Linked DNA regions of Homo sapiens: region 1 is linked to region 2. The links are contacts of gene promoters, found by promoter capture Hi-C in human tissues and cell types (Jung and others, 2019). All regions are on one chromosome and are shown on one strand. The core of a region is centred on a gene start or on the middle of the fragment in contact, and the rest is flanking DNA. Distances in the headings are between cores, read along the strand shown. Region 1 overlaps ST6GALNAC1 (ST6 N-acetylgalactosaminide alpha-2,6-sialyltransferase 1). Region 2 holds the start of TMEM235 (transmembrane protein 235).

The links. The method cuts DNA at HindIII sites, captures the fragments that hold promoters and counts their contacts. A contact is called where the count stands out against the background at its distance.
Region 1: a fragment that was not itself captured here is called in contact with the fragment with the promoter of TMEM235 in region 2 in 1 of the 25 tissues and cell types used here (aorta).

Annotation. Positions count from the first base shown.
Region 1 is chr17:76,634,008-76,638,840 of GRCh38, reverse strand. The region is part of intron 1 of ST6GALNAC1 (ST6 N-acetylgalactosaminide alpha-2,6-sialyltransferase 1); the gene reads left to right. Among named protein-coding and RNA genes, the nearest start is that of ST6GALNAC1, 7.3 kb to the left of the region's middle. The HindIII fragment of the contact is 7,403 bases long and covers 1-4,833 here.
Region 2 is chr17:78,230,016-78,235,028 of GRCh38, reverse strand. TMEM235 (transmembrane protein 235) reads right to left here and starts at 3,398. Exons shown (of 5, transcript NM_001395503.1): 1 at 2,816-3,398; 2 at 1,054-1,134; 3 at 299-436. The coding sequence starts at 3,005. The HindIII fragment of the contact is 13,022 bases long and covers 1-5,013 here.

The DNA.
Region 1 (4,833 bases), core at 2,081-4,580, 1.6 Mb after region 2:
GGGAGACCGAGGTGGGCAGATCACCTGAGGTCAGGAGTTCGAGACCAGCCTGACTAACATGGTGAAACCCTGTCTCTCCTAAAAAATACAAAAATTAGCCGGGCATGGTCCGGTGCCTGTAATTCCAGCTACTTGGGAGGCTGAGGCAGGGAGAATTGCCTGAATCCGGGAGGCAGAGCTTGCTGTGAGCCGAGAGCATGCCACAGTACTCCAGCCTGGGCAGCAAGAGTGAAACTCCGTCTCAGAAAAATAATAATAATCAATAAATAAAAATACAAAAGTTAGCCAGGCGTGGTGGCGGTTGCCTGTAATCCCAGCTACTCAGGAGGCTGAGTATTATCGCTTTTATCACAGGAGAATCGCTTGAACTCGGGAGGCAGAGGTTGCAGTGAGCTAAGATTGCTCTACTGCACTCCAGCCTGGGTGACACAGCAAGACTCTGTCTCAAAAAAAAAATAAAAAATACAATTCTATGATTTCAAACCCATCGGGCCATCTCTCATATCATCTTAAGACGCACCCACGTGCATCATTTGTTCAGTGATGTGTAGATGTCATCTAAGACTATGTCTCTGCTTGGCTTCCATAGTCTGGTATAAATATGTTTTGGAAGATCTATGCTTGTTTTAGCTTTAGAGATGGTAATTAAGAGTGAGCTGTGTAGCATGGCCCCTGCACAAGGATGACGTGCAAATTCGTAAAGCGTTCCATTAAAAAAAAAAAAAAAAAAGAGTGAGCTGTAAAAACAGACCTATGGGTTCTGTTTGTCATTTTCTTGTTGTCACTTTATGTTCTCCAGCCTGGCCAGCATGGCAAAATTCCATCTCTACTAAAAATATGAAAATTAGCCGGGCACGGTGGCACATGCATGTAATCCCAGCTACTCAGGGGGTTGAGGCACAAGAATCGCTTGAACCTGGGCACTGGCTTCCAGTGAGCCGAGATCATGCCACTGCACTCTAGCCTGGACGACAGAGTGAGACTCTGTGTCCAAAAAGAAAAGAACAGAACTTTATTTTCTATCACCTCCTGATTTCTGATTCTGAACTCCCATCCACCAAGCTTCAGGAAAACTTAATCTCAGCTCTTCTTGCCCCTCTGCAGGATGGTATCAAGGGCTCCAGGACATCTGATGCGGTGCCAAGGCATGGGAGTGGGACGCTGACCCTTCGCTATTGAGTAGCTGCTGAAACAGCCATTGTTCCTGCCCCTTGGCTCTTTCAGGTCCACCTGGCTTATGTGTGAGAGACTTTTTTTGGGTTTTTTTTGTTCTGTTTTTTTGAAAAGCCAGTACCAAAAGCTTACATAATTGTATGATTGCATTCAAATAACATTCTTGAAATGATAAAATTATAAAAATACAGAACAGATGAGTGGTGTTTCTAGGGGTTGAGGAGGGGGTGGTGTAGGAAGAAAGTGGCTGTGGCTATAAAAGGACAACATGAGGGACCCTTGTGGTGACTGTTCTATGTCTTTTTTTTTTTTTTTTAATTCACATCTTTATTTATCCTAAACCTTTTAGGTTTAGGGTGTGATGGGAATCTTTTTTTTTTTTTTTTTTTTTTTTTAGTATTTATTGATCATTCTTGGGTGTTTCTCGGAGAGGGGGATTTGGCAGGGTCATAGGACAATAGTGGAGGGAAGGTCAGCAGATAAACATGTGAACAAAGGTCTCTGGTTTTCCTAGGCAGAGGGCCCTGCGGCCTTCCGCAGTGTTTGTGTCCCTGGGAACTTGAGATTAGGGAGTGGTGATGACTCTTAACGAGCATGCTGCCTTCAAGCATCTGTTTAACAAAGCACATCTTGCACCGCCCTTAATCCATTCAACCCTGAGTGGACACAGCACATGTTTCAGAGAGCACGGGGTTGGGGGTAAGGTCATAGATCAACAGGATCCCAAGGCAGAAGAATTTTTCTTAGTACAGAACAAAATGGAGTCTCCTATGTCTACTTCTTTCTACACAGACACAGTAACAATCTGATCTCTCTTTCTTTTCCCCACATTTCCCCCTTTTCTATTCGACAAAACCGCCATCGTCATCATGGCCCGTTCTCAATGAGCTGTTGGGTACACCTCCCAGATGGGGTGGCGGCCGGGCAGAGGGGCTCCTCACTTCCCAGACGGGGCGGCGGTCAGAGGCGCCCCCGACCTCCCAGACGGGGCGGCGGCTGGGTGGGGGCTACCCCCACCTCCCGGACGGGGAGGCTGGCCGGGCGGGAGGACTTTTCTTTTTTTGAAACGGAGTCTCGTTTTGCCATCCAGGCTGGAGTGCAGTGGCGTGATCTCAGCTCCGTGTGAGACTTTTCTGACACTGTCTGTGGTCCTGTCTTCCTAGGCTCAGGATTCTTTTTTTTTCCAGGGGTCTTGTTAGACCTTTGGAACACTGCCAGGAAGCAGGGTCCTCTGACCTTGGAACTCACAGATCCCTCCTTCTCTCATTTCCGCCACCCACCAGAGTAAAGGATCTTTCCAGGGGAAGGACAATGATGGTAAGAAGTAGTAAAGTCCTTCCCCCTCATAACTTCTCCAAGATTGATCTGTTTCACTACATCTTGAACATGAAACCAAATCTTAACTGCTGGAGGTATGGGGGTGGGGTGGAGAGGGAAACAAATAACATTTCAAAATAGTATATAATTGTATTCAAAAGCATGACAGGCGTAGAAAAGGGATGCGGCTGTTCATGCCCTGAGGTACTAACAGTAGATTCTTTGAAGGGACTGGGATAATAGGAGGTTGCTATCCTTTCATGTTTTAAGGCAGTTTCTGCTTTTTCCGTAATAAGCACACATTGCTTTTATAAAAATAAAAATAATTCATAAAAGTTCACTTCTGAAGACTCAGGAGAAAAAGACTCAGCTTAGGTAACCCCTACATACCAAAGTATCCCCCCGAGCAGAACTGCCTCCCTAGGCTGTCACCACTGCCTCGCACACGTATGACTAATATCATACCGATGACACTTTAAGGCAGCTGCTTATACTCATGTCTGTTTCTCTTATAGACTGTGAGCCTCTTAAAACCAGTGACCATTGCTTTTTTTATCTTTAATCTCTAGCAGATACCTCTGAATGCCTGTCATGTCATGGCTACTCAATGAATATTGCAGAATAAACATTGCATTGTGTTGTCAAGTTCTCGTAGAACTTTCCATAAGATGTCTCATTTAGTTGGTTTGTTGTTGTTATTGTTGTTGTTGTTTTGAGACAGAGTCTCTCTTTGCTGCCCAGACTGGAGTGCAGTGATGCGATCCCTGCTCACTGCAACCTCCACCTCGCAGGCTCAAACAATTCTCCTGCCTCAGCCTCCAGAGTAGCTGGGATTACAGGCGTGCACCACCACACCCAGCCGTTTGTATTTTTAGTAGAGACAGGGTTTCGCCATGTTGGCCAGGCTGGTCTCGAATTCCTGACCTCAAGTGATCCGCCTGCTTCAGCCTCCCAAAGTGCTGGGATTACAGGCGTAGGACATCTAACTTTCAAACCAGCTGACTGGCATTCTGGCCCACAGTGAATTCAGCTAGGCGAAGGGCATCTCTGAGAATGCTGGGGACCTGTCTGTTCAGGGGGAGCTCTGGAAGCTGTATCCAGCCACTGAAGTATGATGAGCAGCAACTGACTCATTTTCCTTCTGTTTTCTCTCGAGTCCCAGAACATAATAACATCCCCACTAGAATCTCCCCACTAAGATTGAGGTGGCTGAAAACCACCACACAGGCTTTGATTTGAGAAAAGAACACTCAGAATAACAAGAGAAAATGGATTTCTGCCATTTTTTTCCAGCATACAAAGATAATTAAGGCAATCATACAGCTTTTAGTCATGGAAGCAGCGTATAGACACATCTAAAGTCAAAGTAAAGTCGTAAAAATAAAGCATTCATTCACTTTTAGAAAACTTTCAGGATTTTCCAAGGAAGATAAACTTTGGAGTTTGTTTTTTGTTTTTGTTTTTTTTGAGACAGAGTCTTGCTGTATCACTCAGGCTGGAGTGCAGTGGTACGATCTCAGCTCACTGCAACCTCTGCCTCCCGAGTTCAAGCGATTCTCCTGCCTCAGCCTCCCAAGTAGCTGGGATTACAGGCATGCACCACCATGCCCAGCTAATTTTTGTATTTTTAATAGAGATGGGGTTTCACCATGTTGGCCAGGCTGGTCTCGAACTCCTGACCTCAGGTGATCCACCCCCCACCCCCACCCCCGGCCTCCCAAAGTGCTGGGATTACAGGCGTGAGGCACCACGCCTGGCCAACTTTAGAGTTGGAAAAGAAAAAGCAGAATGGCTGGTTTCTATCTCACATAAGACAGGAGACCCCGAAGAACTGATCAAATACCAAAAGGAGGCTGGAATAGCCCTCGTGGACACCAAGGGGGTCTTGGGAACTCCAGGCCCAGCTAACAATGTGGGGCACAGGAGGCAGGAGCAGTTCAAGGTAGAGAGCTCCACAGCAGGGAGTGGAGAGGGACACAGGGCAGAGCGAAGTGTTAGTTTGTCCTCCTTTCAAGGAGAAGCAGCATCAAAGCTGTGGGAACCAAACATGTAACCTGGAAGAGGAAAGCTCACCCAGCCAGGGGGCCTGAGATAAAATGAGGGCAAAGTTGATGGTGGGGACTGAGAAAGAGCCCAGGACTTAAGGACGTAAGTAGAGGCGATTCTGTGTGACCAGCCATTCCCACATACCAGGCGCAACTCACCTGCAGCCACTTCCGCTCGCTCTCCATGCCATAGAAGGCGGGAGCCCAGGTGCAAAATTATTTAGCGAATCAAAGGAGTCTTTTCAGCTCTTTTCTTATCCTCCTCCATAAAATAATCTTCTACTCATACTGGCTTTGT
Region 2 (5,013 bases), core at 2,149-4,648:
CCCACCTCAGCCTCCCAAAGTGCTGGGATCACAGGCATGAGCCACTGCTCCCGGCCTAAACCTCTTTTCTTTATAAATTACGCAGTCTCAGGCATTTCTTTATAGCAACGTGAGAACAAATATACATGGGTACCTTCTGGAACCACAGGGAGCTGCCTGCCACGGCTCCATCGCCAGACTCAGCACCCGCCCAGAAGGGAGCAGGGGACGAGGGCAACAGGAGAGGCAGCACCCCACTCCCGGGACCTGTGGCCCAGCTCCCATCTTTGGAGCCATTCCCCCAGGGCCCCAGACTCACTCCCCAGCAGGAAGTAGCAGCCGGTGAAAAGCAGCAGAGACACGCTCTGGGCCAGGGAGCTGAGCAGGCCGCAGATCCAGCCACACACGAGAAGGACCAGGCTCAGGGGCAGGACCACAATGACTGCACGGTGCAGCACTGCAGGAAAGGGGGCTCAGGTGAGAATTCTGGTCCAGGTGGGCCCTTCAGCACTTGTCTGCCGGAGGACAGTGACGTGGTGCTTCGTCTTCTCAGGAAAAGCGGCTGACGCCCATCTCTGTGGACACCACTGGACCCTCCCAGTGGCCCCCTCTGACTCTGGCAGGGGCTTCCTAAGGCCAGGAGGGGAGGCGTCCCCAGAACACTCCCAGCCCCCATCCCCAGGCCTCACATGTCCCCCAACCCGCCAGGTGGAAGGTGCCAGCCAGGTAGACAGCAGGCCATCTGGAAGAATCGAGTCCTAAATGGGGAGCCAGGAGTCTGCAAGGCCCGCAGGATCCAGCCAAGCTGGGAGCTGCCTGGCTTCCCCAATAACAAAGGGATGAGCCATCACCACTGAGAGGGAAACTGAGACAGGGGAAAACAGGATAGGCTGGGAGCTGGGCACCTGTGGTTAGGGACAGCAGCACAGCACTGGGACAGGTCTGCGTGGAAACGTCCTCTTGGAAACGCAGGGGCAGTGGAAGCAGTGCTGCGGGATGGGGATGGGGATGGCTGGGATCTGCCTTGCCTGAATATTTGGAAAGGATGGGGAGGTGGCCCCACCCAGGACTCACAGATGAGGTGCTGCACCGAGGTGGAGACGTCCAGGCTCTCACTGGCAAAAGGGTCGACCAGCGGGATGCAGCCGTTCTGCCCTGGGAAACATAGGCCTCGAAGCCTGGGGCCTGGACGCTGTGGTGCACCCAGCAGCCTACCCGAGCCCAGGGGACCCCCTGGCACCACAGGGCCCTGCCAGCTTCTCTTCTGCTGAAACTCAGGGCTGGGACTCCAAGTGGGATGAAAAGGCCCAAGACCTTTAGCCTTGTTTATTTTCTTTTTCTTTTTTTTTTTTTTGAGATGGAGTCTCGCTCTGTCACCCCAGGCTGGAGTGCAGTGGCGCGATCTCGGTTCACTGCAAGCTCCGCCTCCCGGTTTCGCGCCATTCTCCTGCCTCAGCCTCCCAAGTAGCTGGGACTACAGGCACCCGCCACCGTGCCCGGCTAATTTTTTGTATTTTTAGTAGAGACGGGGTTTCACTGTGGTCTCGATCTCCTGACCTCGTGATCCACCCGCCTCGGCCTCCCAAAGTGCTGGGATTACAGGCGTGGGCCACCGGGCCCAGCCTTCACCTTGTTTATTTTCACGTGCAAGTTATGCCTGCACAGGTGCATGTTTAAACTTTCAAACGCTCCATGGAGGCCCCCTCAGAGTCCCTCAGGCAGGGGTCCTTGTAATGCGTTTGTGTGTGGAACTCAGGCTTTGCCTGAAAGGAAAAAGGGTGTACAAAACGGGCTCCTGGGAAGCCTCGCTCTGGAATCTTCCTGACTCGTGTCATGTGGGCATACATACTCTCTGGTTCTCACACGCGTGCAGAGCCACCTGCATAGGCACAGGCGTGTGCACACGTGCACACAGGTGCATGTCAGGAGGTCTTTGGAGCACAGTTAGGCAGTCTGTTGGATGAACACAAGGCTCCTAACTCCTCCCCAGTTGCACTGAGGAAGCCACCAGCACATGTGCACCACCCACACATGCACTCACTCATATACATGCCCACACACTCTCACATGCACACACATGCACACTGACATGCTCACACACTCATATTCACATGCACACACAACTACATACACTCACACTCACATATTCATATTTACATACACAGCCAGGTGCTCACACATGTTCATGTTCAGCACATGCACACATATTCAGATGCACACACATGCTCACTCACACACACACCCCTGCCCTGCCAGCCCTCGCGCTGTGAAGGGGAAGCTCCCCAGGCTGGCCCCAGCTCCGGAGGAGGGAGCTGGGGGGAACGGAGGGGGCCCTGTGGACCCTCCAGCCTGCTGGGATCCCCTTCTCTCTCCCCGGACTCTGAAGCCTCTGTACACATTTGGAACCCCTGCCCCCGCGGCATCAGGAGGTGTGGGGTGAACAGCTCTGACAGTGCCTGACAGGGACGGGGACAAGGGGCTGCCAGGCCCAAACCCCGGGGAGCGTGATCAAGAAACAACCCCTGGTGACTTGGATGAGGCCCCCCAACTACACACCTCTAGGCTTCCCTCCCCCACTGTCGCCCCACAGCCCCCTCCTCCGGCTGTGAGGGGCCCCGAACTGGGCTCCCTCCCTCCTGTAGCCCTTGGGCTGTCAGTTTTGGGGGAAGACGGAGGGTGATGGGGAGGGAGCGGAGAGACACCCTGGGGCAGAGCGGGATGCAAGAGAGGGGTCCTGGAAGGGGGTCTGGCGGGGCAACACGAGCAGGGCGGGGTTAAGGGGGTGTCGGAGGGACGAGGTCGCGGAGGGAGGAGGGCCGGCGCGGTGGCCGGTTACCTTCGCAGATGCGCCAGAGCCCCGAGTGCGAGGAGAGCAGCTCTGCGCGCCCGGGCCAGGCGCTGCCATTGCCGGCGTCCGCCACCTCCAGGATGTACCAGTAGTCGCTGGCGACCGCGGCGGCCAGGAGCGCGAAGCTGAGCAGTGCACCCAGGGCGGCGGCCAGGAGCAGCGCGCCCAGCCGGGCCATGGGGGCGGCCGGCGGGAGGGGACGGGTCGGGGGTAGCAGGGCCCCGGGGGCGGCGGGGGGCGCGCGGAGCCGGGAGCCGGGGGACGGGGGGCGGGCGGGCGCGGCGGCGCCCGGCTCTTCTGAGCACGTCCCCGCTCCTGCCCGCGCACTGGCCTCGCGGGCCCCCTGGGGTCGCAGGGAGATCGACCCCACCTCTCTGCGGTCGCTGAGCTCGCCCCTGGGGGAAAGGAGAGGAAGTCGAGAGCCGCGCGGCGAACCTGGGGCTTGGGCTCCAATCCCAGCGTCCCCACGGGCTGGCCCCGGGTCCCTGGGCACGTTCCTTAATTTCCCTGAACCCCCGGCTCCTCAGCAGCCAAACAAGATGCACCTGCCTGGCCGGGCTGTGCAGGGCTTGAGAGGAGGAGGGAGGATCGGCCAGAGACCGACCCCAGGAGGATGGCCGGCCAGGCAGCAGGACCACCCACCCGTGCTCCTGGAAGCATAGGAGCCTGGCACGGGCTGGCCCTGGGGTCCTGGTCTGTATCAGTCCTGAGGACCAACCAGACGGCATCCGGTGAAGTGCAGTGGCTGGGCCCCACAGCCGGGCGGGGGGCTGCGGAAGGAAAAAACCTTGTTTTGGATTCACTCATAATTACAAATGCCCCCTCCAGCAAGGCCGGCCTCTGCCTGTCCAGTCACTCACGGAGAAAACAGGCAGAAAGAACCTTCTAGGACAGGCGTGGGGTGCCAGTGGGGGTGGGAGGCAGAGGAGCCGGCGAGAGGCCCCCACCCATCCACCCAGGACTAGCCCCATGAGCAACGCCCGCGTGGGCAGCCACACAGGCGGAAGGGACAGGCTGGGCAGCCATCGCCTAAGGTCTGGGGTTAAATCTCAAACGAAGGGGAGGCTTCCTCTGGGTTGCCACACAGGGCTGGGCAGAGCCTGCAGAGAGGGGATCAGAGGTCTGAGGACATCCTCCCGGATGGTGGCCCTTGGAGGTGAAGCCAAGGCTCTCTTCTTGGGGCGTTTTGGCCATGCTTTCCTCTGCTAGGCTCTTGTTGGTTTGAGGAATATAGTCAGGAAGGAAAAACCAGCCTAGCAGTTATTGAAACAATATTTCAAACAGAGTTCAGACAGAGTGACAGAATGGCTCAGGTATTTTGTAGCCGTCCTCACACCTGCAGCACCAGACTGTGTTGCCGCACGTGGGCAGCTCTGGGGTTTTCCAGCCCCCTTGGAGCTGGGGCTTCCCTGACCACAGCCCCTCTCTGGGAGCCATGTGGCATCCAGCAGCCCTGTTCTCTAGGGGTGGGGATAGCACATTAGATCTGGAAGGTGAAAGAACTCAACAGGTGCTCAGAGAGTAGCAGCCGTTATAAAGGCAGAGGCGATAGGGATAGGGGGTGGGGCCTCGTTCCCCCCCTAAACACACTGCAGCTGGGGAAAGAACGGTGCGTGATGAAAACTCGTGGTACTCTGACACTGACCCCACAATAAAGCAATATAACAAGAATCAATATTGCTTCGGTTGGATCAACACCTTTGTGCATGTGAAAGGTACGAACTGACTCTGCAGGGAGAACAGAGGAGCCCCATTTGGGCTGCGTGCTCCATGTGTGTCCTCCCGGTGACTTCCCCTTCTCTCTCTCACTCTATTTATTTTTTTAGAGACAAGGTCTCCCTATGTTGCCCAGGCTGGACTCAAACTCCAGGGTTCAAGTGATCCTCCTGCCTGGGCTTCCCAAAGTGCTGGGATTACAGGTGTGAGCCACCAAGCCCAGCCTCTCCTTTCTTTTTTTTTTTTTTTTTTTTTCAGAGACAGGGAGGGCAGGGGTCTCCCTATGTTGCCCAGGCTGGTCTCGAACTCCTGGGTTCAAGTGATCCTCCTGCCTCGGCTTCCCAAAGTGCTGGGATTATAGGCGTGAGCCACTGTGCCCAGCTTCCCCTTCTCTTGAGCTGAGAGCTGGTTTGAGATCTGTTATTGCACCCACATAAAGCTTACGTAGGGCCAGATATGGTGGCTTGTGC